Linked DNA regions of Homo sapiens: region 1 is linked to region 2. Evidence: promoter capture Hi-C in human tissues and cell types (Jung and others, 2019). All regions are on one chromosome and are shown on one strand. The core of a region is centred on a gene start or on the middle of the fragment in contact, and the rest is flanking DNA. Distances in the headings are between cores, read along the strand shown. Region 1 overlaps C15orf61 (chromosome 15 open reading frame 61). Region 2 holds the start of KIF23 (kinesin family member 23).

Region 1 (5,656 bases), core at 3,025-5,524, 1.9 Mb before region 2:
ATAAAGGGAATTAAAAAATATTTTAAAGTGGTGAACACATCTGGTAACGTTTATTTTTAATTTTTGTCTGAAGGTAGAGGGGATGTGAATTAGATAATAGGTCCTTTCCTATTCTGTGAGGTACAATCGTCTCTCTGGGTGATAAAGTACATATCCTATTAATATTATACTTAGGATTTTGTTCCTCTTCTTCCCTTCCAAATTCATTTTTCCATTTTGTAAATAATAAAGATTTCTGTTTACCCATTTGCTCCTTTTCTCCTCCGTCTTCCCTTCAATGGAAGCTGACATTTTACTGATGGTTTACCAGTCTAGGTATCCTGCTGAGAAGTAGATTGAGATTTAAGAAAAGCAACTTACCATTGGAATGAATGAGATTTACTGAGGAATTCTAATTTTTTAAAGTGCTTAATTTGACAGTGGTTTACCTACTGTTCAGCTGACTCAAAGTGAATTATTATGCAAAGAACTGATTTGGAGGTTCTTTTGATGTTACATGTTTCAGATATAAATTTAATTTTTCAGAAAAAATTGAATTTTTCATAGAATCTTATAGACTTCAAAGCATGTGTGCTACAAAGATTTTGTAATATATAAGTTATATAGGTGGCAAACCTTCCCATTTTGAGTATTAGTCTGACTGCATTAAATAAACAGACAGCAAGGGGAAAAAAATACAGAATTTCTGACTCAGATCATAACTCCATCTCCTGTCAAACAGCATCACTGCTAATGGTTGCTGGTTATTTTTTAATAAGACATAATATAGTTATTAAGCTAGTAATCTTTGATCAGCCCTTGATTTTAGCTGAAAATATATTGACCGTTTATTTCTGTATTTGTGATTTTTCAAAAGTATGAATTTTTTAAATCAATATGTTAACTGAAAACTATGATAAATACTATAAAAGAAAATTGTCAGTGTCACCAGGTATTCCTTAAATTTATATACTTAGCCTTGGTTTAAGAGGCCTATTTTATGTATTTTAGTCTCAGTATGCTTAGAAAATTAGTAATTGCTTCTAGAGCCTATTTTTTTTCTTCCTCACTCCATTGATTTTCAGCTTTGAAGTTGTGATATTGCATTTTAAATTTATTTTTTATTTCAACTACTCCCTATACTTCACTCTCATTTCTGCCTAGCTTGTTCATATTCTTCTTTTTCTACCTCCCACCCCTGAGCCACTTGCCTTTTTTTTTCTTTGTGGTTAAATGATTTATAAGTAGCTTTATTATTCTAGTTTTTGTGGATTTTTTTATGACATTCCCTTGAGGTATTCAGAGATTCTTTTGGACATTATCAGGGCAAAGAAGGTGATACACTATAAAAGGTTTCATGGGAGTTCCAGGGAACCCTGTGATGGTGACAAACTGTGACCCAGTATATTCCTAAAAATAGAGAGATGCCAGCCTGAATGGGCATTTTTTTCCCCTTCTCATTACCAGCTAGTGATGTGATGCTTCTCCTGATTAATCTCTGGCATCACAGTGGCTGGAATGAAGCTTCAGGGAGTAAGCACAAAGTGGTTCAGCAAACACACTCAAAAAGAGCTTAACACAGCAAATATATTCTTGCAGAAAAATAAGACCAAAATTTAGCAATATGATTAGTCCAGAGCATGTGTTGCTTTTTTGTTTGTTTTTTTTTTTTTTTTTTGAGATGGAGTCTCCCTCTGTCGCCAGGCTGGAGTGCAGTGGTGTGATCTCGGCTCAGTGCAACCTCTGCCTCCTGGGCTCAAGCAATTCTCCTGCCTCAGCCTCCTGAGTGGCTGGGATTATAGGCATGCGCCATCACGCCCAGCTAATTTTGTATTTTTTGTAGAGACGGGGTTTCTCCATGTTGGTCAGGCTGGTCTCGAACTCCCAACCTCAGGTGATCCGCCTGCTTCGGCCTCCCAAAGTGCTGGGATTACAGGCGTGAGCCACAGTGCCCAGCCGCGTTCTTTATTACTAGAAAGAAAGTGATTTTCCAAATGTACAGCTATCCTTTTAAAGTGTCACTTTCTGCCCATTTCCCACATAAGAGCATAAAATTAATGCTTGTCCAGAGCATACAGTATTTGTTATTGATTCATGTGCCTATGGTTTTATTACATATGTTTTTAATATGTTAGTAGTCATTAATTTTAAATAAGTACCTTTAAAAAGATAGGAATTGTGAAAGTTTGTTTTGTGCCAACAGTCTTATATGCATGTGAGTGCTTAATACATATCTCTGGATAGTGTGTTTAGTTTCATGTATCACAAATGGCAACTAATCTCAAAGCAGCAAAATCTTATCAATTCCAAAGAAGAAACACATGTTGGAGTCTACTATATATCTATTTCAAATTGGTTGAAATGAGGTTGTTTTCAGATCAATTGAAAAAATGCTAATAATAGTTTTTTTTCTCATGCCTGTTGTACTGAAATCTTACTTGGAGTTAGGTTTTGCTTTAGATTTTAAAGACAGCTCTTTGACCGAGCTTCTTTTAAGTTGTACAAAAATTACTTCAACCATTAGTGTTACTACTAACTTAAAGAACAGTAATGTTGGCCGGGCGCGGTGGCTCACACCTGTAATCCCAGCACTTTCGGAGGCCTAGGCCCAGGATCACAAGGTCAAGAGATCGAGACCATCCTGGCCAACATGGTGAAACCCCATCTCTACTAAAAAAGTACAAAAATTATCTGAGCGTGGTGGCGCGCGCCTGTAGTCCCAGCTACTCAGGAGGCTGAGGCAGGAGAATCGCTTGAACCCAGGAGGCGGAGGTGGCAGCGAGCCGAGATCGCGCCACTGCACTCCAACCTGCCAACAGAGTGAGACTCCATCTCACAAACAAACAAACAAACAGTAGTGTTAACTTAGTAATTTTAGCTCAAGGCTAATAATCAGGAGCGTCTACAACTAAATTAATGAGTATTCTTCTCCATTTTCTTATTTATGAAAAGAATATAGCATTACTTCATGATTATTTGAGGGTAATGAATTTATGAAGTACTCGAATTAACATTTATACCCGCCTTGTCTATAGTATGAAAACCTCTGGACTCACGTGATTGCCATCATGTGCCACGTTGATGAAATTGAGCTCTTAGATAATCAGAGTCAATGTTGATTAATATTTTTATATTTTATCACATTGTAATTTGTTAACATTGCTGAAGAGTGTTATACGTGATCAGTAACTTGCATGATTAATAAGCATTGATGTTTATACATATTCGTTTGTTTTCTAGGTATTCCAACTTTATTATATGGACTTGGCTCCTGGTTATTTGCCAGAGTCACAGAGACTGTGCATACCAGTTATGGACCCATAACAGTTTATTTTCTCAATAAAGAAGATGAAGGTGCCATGTATTGAAAGTGTGCGTCAAAGAACATAAATATCAGTGGATTTTCTCTGTGTATATGTGCAGTATTTATTTTTGATCCTTTAAAATAAAACTTTTGCAAATACTTTTTTCTTTCTACAGTATCTGCTTCTTTAAGATGAATCATTGCCCTCAAGAGGTGAAGCTTTTTATACATCGTTATATATTACATACTCTGTTTAGCTGATGTGAACTACAAACACATGAAGCTTCACACCATTTTTTCCCTAGAACTAGGTTAACCTACAGATAAAAAATGATTACAATGTAATAGATTCTATAGTTAATTAACAATTTAAATCAACTCTGAAGAGAAAATATAGATGCCCACACAAAAGAGAAGGGGGGAAAATCTTTTATGTAACAATGGAAAAAGAAGTAGAAGACATTAGGATGTATGATGGAAATATTACATCATTGGCAAATCCAAAATTGATGAGAATCTAATTGTAATCTCAAGTCTAAACCATTCAGCTGCCAGGATTGTAAATAGAAACGTTTTAAAGGCCTTGTGCCATTTACCTGGAGGAGGGGTTGGAGTGTAATGTTGAAACTTCTTGTTGCTTAAAGAGTCCAAAACCATATCGTTTGTAAAATGTAATAATAACTGGTTAATATAAGTGTAGCAAGGTGAATGAAACTCAGACTTATTAAAAGTTAAAACAGCTTTCCTATAAAGCTGTAAGAACAATTAAGATCTTCTAGAAAGATGCAGAAAAATAAATTTGGTAACTGTTTATAAAAGCAATTAACTGAAATGGTACATATCCATAGACTTATTGGCAATAAGGAGTGGGCTGAAATTTTAAAGACCTAATGGCACTTTTGCATTTGAATTTTATTAACTTAATTGCATTTTTGAAAGCCAAGTCATTTAAAAAAATGTATCCTTGGGGTAGTCACAAAATACCCAGATGAATGGTAAATTTCAGACATTTGGAGTAATTTAGGGAGAACTAAGTAGAACTATTTAATTTCTAAACCAATGGGTGTTTAAGATTTATGATCTCTCCCATAATTACAAACATACATTATATATCATTTTATGTTAATGTGTTGCTGATACTCTGCAACACTTACACATTTTTGTAGCAAAACATTTTATAAAATTCAACATTTGGATGCTTATGTCAAGTCAGTAGAGAAAGTGAGTGGAAGTGACTGAGGTGAAGGCACCAGAATAATGAAGTAATACAAACTAGCTTCGTTAAAGGTAGTCATTTTAAATGATCTACAGAGTGAACTGTTCTTCAAATATATGTGGTGTTCACTTGTCTAAAAGCAATTCTAAGTAACACTTTAATCAAAGAAGTACTTATGCCAATATATTTAGTCCAGAAGAATATACTTGACACTAGTTAAATGAATGGCTTACACAAAGGAGATAGTGTTACATTAAGCTTCATTAATAATAAAACAACTGGCTATTAGCATTTTGCAGGGAAGGCTAGAACTGATTTCCTCTGTAATGGGCAAAGTTAAATAACTATAGCTCATAAGTTTTAAGTCAAATACTGCTCATTCATTGCTGCTGGTCTTGTCAATAGTGGCTGTAAAGGTTTGGTCCCAACACAAGGCTGATAAAATGGTCTTTAATTACCAGACTATAAATACAGCTTTTCAGTAGAGTTGCACCTCTTTTCACACTGGCCTGTTTGATTTCTGATAATTTGTACTGCTGACTCTGCTTACCTGTTTTTCAATAGCTATAGTCAGTGTGACTTCTTGCCCATATGTGATAGGTAAGTGTCCTTGGAGAACATCTTTGACAAACTACCCTATTGATCTCTGTAATTCTCTGCTGCTTGCAGCATTAAACAGGGCCTTGATTTCTTGTCTGATGTGCTCACTGTATAACAAGTAAATGTAATATTTTCTTGTATTACATGAAAATCAATAGACCTCTTGCTCTTACGGAGTTGATCATGGTGAAGGATGAACTAACTCAACAATGGGTAAAGGCGTGGTTTAAAAATTTAAATATCATTCATTGGATTTATTAAGTCTTGTAAACTTGTAGTCTGAAAACAATACTTCCCATTGAACAGCAATGGTTTAAGTTTTTTCTTTAAAGCTGCATATTACACCAAAGTATTATGGCCTGAAAGGGAGAAAGTATAAATGTGTAAGTCAGGAGACTGAGTCTATTTTTAGTATTGGTGCTGTCTTACTTTTTGACCTCAGGCTAATAACTCTCCTCCTTTGTGTCTTGGTTTTTCCACCTGTAATCTGAGAAGAACGAAACAAGAGACATTTCTACCCGAAAATGTACATCAATTTTACTTTTGTCTCTGCAAAA
Region 2 (5,800 bases), core at 2,546-5,045:
CAAGTCAACAGGTGCAGTGAGTGGGAAAGGGCAGTTTTGGGGGCGTGGGGGCTGTACCACGGGGCCCAGTATCCACAGCAGGGTAGCTGGCAGATCTGCAGAGAACTGAAGGCAAGGCATTGTCAGAGGAAAGGAGGGAGGAGAGCGTGACAGCACAGAGAATGGCGTGTGAGCCCAGCGTGTTCAGGGCACTGCAGTTCAACATGACTAGAGGGGACAGGGGGCAGTGATGGGTGATGAGCCCCAGAGGAAGCGTCTCAGGGCCCTGTGGTGGGTCTCCAACAATGGGGAACCACTGCAGAGTTTCATATAGGTATGTGACATAATCAGATCCATGATTTAGAGATGAGCAAAATGGAAACTGAATTGGAAAGTGGCAGCAGAGAGGCCTGTTAGGAGACTGCTGTCTTTATCAGACAAGAGAAGATGGTGGCTGAGGAGACAGAGAAAAGTGGAGCAGTTTGGAGGTTTGGCTACTTAGTAGGTAGAACTGTTAAGATTTAGTGATTGAATATTGAGACAGAAGAAGAGAGAAAAGCTAACAATGTTGCTTTAGACTCTGGCTTGGTGGATGCCATCCACTGAGAGGGAGCAAGTTTGGGAGAAGAGATTAGAATGTGTTAGATGTGAGATGCTTGTGGGATATCGAAGTGGAGAATCCAGAAGACAGCTGGATATATGGCTCTGGAGCTCAGAAGAGCAAACATGAATGGGATGTGAAGCCATATGAGTGCTTGAGAGTGCCTAGGGAAAAGGCACACCTAGTGACCAGCTCTAAACCCTGAGCCCCAACATTTAAGGGAGAAAAAAAGAACTCACAAAGGAGACTGAGAAAGAAGGGCTAGACAGCTAGGAGAAAAAATAAAGGCATGGGAAGAAAGGAATGGGCAACATTTTTTAGTGTTGTTAAGAAGCCAAGTAAGACAAAAGTCAAATAGATTTAGCATCAAGGAAGTGGTAATTTTGGTGACAAGAGTTCCAATGGAGTCTGAGGTAGAAGCTAAACTGAAGAGCAACTAGGATATAAGTAGTCAGCAACCAAGCCCAATTCCTAAATGATAAAAATTCCAAACTCTAGGCCAGGTGCGGTGGCTCACACTTGTAATCCTAGCACTTTGGGAGGCTGAGGCAGGTGGATCACTTGAGGTCAGAAGTTCAAGACCAGCCTGGCTGAGGCAGGAGAATTGCTTGAACCCCGGAGGCGGAAGCTGCAGTGAGCCGAGATTGCGCCACTGCACTCCAGCCTGCGTGACAGACTCCGTCTCAAAAAACAAAACAAAACAAACAAACCAACAAAATACCAAACTCTAGCTTGACAACAAAGTCCTAATCATTCAAAGACTTCAACATAGGAAGCAAAGCAATAAAAGCACTAGGAAACAAAAAATGAGAAATAAAATAAAAAACTCAGAATGGATGTATTTTTCCAGTATGACACAAAACAGAAGCCATAAAAGAAAAGACGGATTAATCTGTCTACCTGAAATTTTTTCCAAGCTGTCACAAAACATATACAAATAAAAATAACCAAAATGTGAAAAATAAAAGTATTTAAACTCGTATTTTGGATGAGGACCAATTTTTTTTTAATATAAGAACTTTCACAGATCATTAAGAAAAACGAACAACCAATAGAACAAAGAGGCAAAGAATATGAACACAGTTGATAGAGAAGGAATCAAAAGGGCTCTAAAATATATGAATAGACAACATTTATCTGAAAATAAATGAAAAATTTAACTACATGTTTTTTCTCACCAATTGATATGAGATATCAATAGATTGGTAGCTACTGAAAAGTTTGATAACACTTTGAGAATTGTGGAGAAATAGGCACTCTCATACAGGCTGGTGGGAGTGTACATTTGGACAGCTTTTATGGAGAATGATTTGCAATATCTGTGAAATGTTACACATATGTATACTCTTTGACTCAGCAATTCTGTTTCTAGAAATGTTTCCTACATATTTACCTGCATTGTATAAATTTCCACATTCATTCACTATAGCTGTATCTGTAATAGGAAAAGTTGGAACCATCCTAATGTGCAATGTAGGGGTGGAAAAGGTGTGATACTTTTCTTTACCCATCTTAAGGGTCACAGCTGACACTACCATAACAAAAAACAGGTTAGCAAGATAAATGGATAACTTATTGAATCACAGTTTTATGGGATGTAAGTGCCTTCAGAAATGAAGACCCAAAGACCCAGGGAAAGCTGTCCATTTTTATGCTTAGATGAGATGAAGAATGGACAGCTGTGTAGAAATGTGATTGTACAAAAGGAGTATGATCTAATAGTAACAGACTGAAGGAGGAATCCAGCAAGTCCTGTCTGTTCAGATTCTTCTTGGCCTCTCTGTGCAGCTTTCCTTCTTCCTGAGTGTAGGGCAAGACCCTTTTGGAACGAGGGTCTTATGACAAGGTACATCAAAGAATGTCTTTATGGCCAGCTCTTACACAAAAAGGTGGGGGAAGGCTAGATTAATATTTCTAGGTTTTTCTAGAATAATGTTTCTGGCTTGCTTGGGAGAAAAGGGGTTCTAGTTTCCATGACCCGCCTTGGGGAACAGAAATTCTGGTTTCTATTATTTGCTTTAGGAGACACAGAGGGGTGGGAGACAAGAGGGCAGGAGAAAGTCAGAGACAGACTTTGCTTTTAAGGCTTCTCTGAGGCACTTTCAGTCTTCTTTAGTTCAAAGCACTCAGTGTGCCAAAGAGCCATACTCTGGGGTGTCGTTTCCTGAGCACCAACAATATTGGCCAAGGACATTGTGACTATCCTTACCAGTGCTGTGGTCCTTTAGGAAGTTGAGAAGGGGCTAGAGTTCCATGAGAGCCCAGGTGTAGATGTGTATTTGGTAGTCATCGGCTTAGGGTCAAAGACAGAAGTGATATAGAATCAGTTCATCTAAGGCAAGAGTAGGTTCAAAAGGTTGCCCCTTAAGGGTAAGGACCAAATTTTATTCATCTCCGTAAGGCCAGGATCAAACACAATCAAGATTTGATAAAACAGGCCGGGCGCAGTGGCTCACGCCTGTAATCCCAGCACTTTGGGAGGCCAAGGTAGGCAGATCACCTTAAGTCAGGAGTTCTAGACCACCCTGGCCAATATGGTGAAACCTCATCTCTACTAAAAATACAAAAATTAGCTGGGCGTGGTGGTGCGCGCCTGTAATCCCAGCTACTCGGGAGGCTGAGGCAAGAGAATTGCTTGAACCTAGGAGGTGGAGGTTGCAGTGAGCTGAAGACTGCAGTCCAGGCTGGGCGACAGAGCAACTCCACCTCAAAAAATAAAAAAGGAAAAAAAAAAGATTTGATAAAATAATGTACATATAGGACAGAGCTGGAGGGAAACCCAGGAAAGGTGAATCAGAGAGAGAAAAGACGCCAAGATAATGTGGTGACTTGGGAGCCAGAGAGACGGAGCCTGAGACTTGGAGCAGGGCACAGCACAGGAATACAACACTTTTCACCAGAACGACATTCCGACCTCTGAATCAACCCTGGAAAGGCCCTTCCATTGAACTTCTTGTGATGGAGGAAAAGAAACCCTCAGTTTCGTCATCGCAAGGCGGAAGAGTTTAAATACCATACCTCAAGATCTCCCTCCAGCCCTGACACGCGACTCCGCGGCCCTTTCAGCGTCGGTCGCCTAGGAGACAAGCGCCACTTCCGGCAGCGAAGTCACTTCCGCGGAGGTCCTGCCTCTCCCTGCGGACGGGCGCTGATTGGCCCGTTTGAAATGCGCCAGGCGGGAGCTCACCTGGGCTCTTAGCGTCGCCGCCGGCTTCGCAGAGCACCGCGCCTTAGCCGCGAAGTTCTAGTTCTTGCTGCCGGTCCTAACGTCCCGCAGTCTTCGCCAGCCAGCCGTCCCGCATGCGCGTTTGGGCGGCGTGGAGCCTGCTGCCATGAAGTCAGCGTGAGTACGAGGCCGCCGAGCAGGGAGAGAGGGCGGACGGGGGCCGAGGCCTCGGGGCTGGGGGCAGGCGTCTCCACTCAGGCCGCGGCCGTACGCGGGCAGCGCGGACAGCATCCCGCCCGGTGCTGCTGCGGCCGCGACCCCAAAGTGGGAACCTCCACGTGTGGCCGCTCCGCGGGAGCCTGGGCGCGGAGACCCCTGCCGCGTCGCCCCCCGCCGCCCCGCCTGGGCCTCCAAGGGGCCAGGAAGGGTCGGCCCGGAGCCGGGGTTGTTTTACGCCGCACCCGGTTCCCGGGGGCGGGGCAGTCCTCCTCGGGGTCCCGGGACAGCCTTTCCCTTCTCCCTCGCTGGCTGCCGCCGCCTCCAGAGTGCAGTTGGCCAACTTAGTGCGGGTCGGAGGTGGTCTCGTGTGTGGAGCAGAGCGAGTGTGCTGGGCATTGGTTAGATGGGCTCCGTTTCTGGAGAGCCCTGGCACCGGTGATCGCCGCTAGCTTTTTTTTCAGCCGAGCACCCTGTCCTTGAGGCCGAGCCCATCCGCTTACACAGGCCAGTTACTTCTGCTGTATTTTGTGGCCGCAGAGAACCTCCGCCCACATTCCTAAGCTAATATTTTCGGCGCAGCATCATTCCTGGGTAAAGAAATATTTGTCGTGCAAAGGAGAGGATTGGCTTTATTACCATTTAGGGAGTCGTTTGCAAAAGACAACTTGTTTATTAAGAGGCCGAAGTCAAAATCTTTAGATGAAAAAAATTATATATAAGAAATATACGTTGAGTTTAACTTAAGCCCACCACAAAGTATTTTGCACTGAATAACACGAATTTGCTTGTGTTTCATCTGAGAATATGTTTGGAAAAATATTTTTAAACTACAGTCGAAGCCAATAATCTTACTTAATTTTAATGTGTTAAATGTATATCTAGCCTATAGATAAATGTGAAGGGAAAAAGATGAGATGCTAGAGAAATGGTGAAATCAATCAAAATAACTTTTTGATTGCCCCTACTTAAGAAACCAAGAAATTGGCAGTTTGGGACCAGATTTTGTTTGGAGACAAAGAGTAATGTTTTGAGCATTCAATGACTGGTTGTTCCTTGAAAGTACAGGCGTAACCCTTGACGAAAGAATGGTTTCCTCCATGTGCATTTTTATAGTGTATTGAAGTTAATCGCTTGTCAGTCTGTAAAGTGTGGGCAGTTATAATTTGTAGTGCCTCTGTTAAATTGTTGCTCAAGAAAATATGCAAGCCATTTTAAGTATAGAACTAATCAGAGAATAAGTAGGTAGCTTTGGTACCAAAAATGTATTCTAAAGCAAATTTTAATTACTTTTGGATTACGCATGCCACAAACACTCTGCTACTATGATTATTAATGTTATTTGGGATGCAGTGTTTTGCAACTGCTAAGGGATAATTTACAGATAACCTAGAAAGATTGTATAAGTTTTAGGTGAGGCTTTTGTATTCGTGTTGAACTGAAAAAAAAGTTATTATTATTTTTTAATCTATGACCAGGAGAGCTAAGACACCCCGGAAACCTACCGTGAAAAAAGGGTCCCAAACGAACCTTAAAGACCCAGTTGGGGTAAGGTATCCCTGTAAATTTATGTGTGGTGTTTAAGAAACTTATCTCTTCAGTCCTTTCTGTCTTATGTGTATGCTTGGAAGGGAAAGAAGAAGACATGTGGAAGTATAATCAAAGAACATTTAGTTAAATGGATGTACTACATTGTGTAAAACTAGTGCTAGCTGTGAAATTTTCTCTATAAGATTAATTAAATTAGTCCAGTAAAATGAAGTCTTTGGTTGTCAACTGCATACCTTCTGTAATTATAATTTGGAGAGTTAGATAATTAAAAATCTCCAACTGGGTTC

The links. Contacts are between HindIII fragments. The study calls those that stand out against the background at their distance.
Region 1: a contact is called between a fragment that was not itself captured here and the fragment with the promoter of KIF23 in region 2, in 1 of the 25 tissues and cell types used here (aorta).

The regions. Positions count from the first base shown.
Region 1 is chr15:67,523,199-67,528,854 of GRCh38, forward strand. It overlaps C15orf61 (chromosome 15 open reading frame 61), which reads left to right. Exons shown (of 2, transcript NM_001143936.2): 2 at 3,220-5,656. The coding sequence ends at 3,347. Among named protein-coding and RNA genes, the nearest start is that of IQCH-AS1, 4.2 kb to the left of the region's middle. The HindIII fragment of the contact is 3,545 bases long and covers 2,503-5,656 here.
Region 2 is chr15:69,410,554-69,416,353 of GRCh38, forward strand. KIF23 (kinesin family member 23) reads left to right here and starts at 3,796. Exons shown (of 24, transcript NM_001367805.3): 1 at 3,796-3,923; 2 at 5,441-5,510. The coding sequence starts at 3,913. KIF23-AS1 (KIF23 and PAQR5 antisense RNA 1) reads right to left here and starts at 4,476. Exons shown (of 2, transcript NR_132971.1): 1 at 3,599-4,476. RefSeq lists silencers at 3,966-4,085, 4,116-4,195. The HindIII fragment of the contact is 14,046 bases long and covers 1-5,800 here.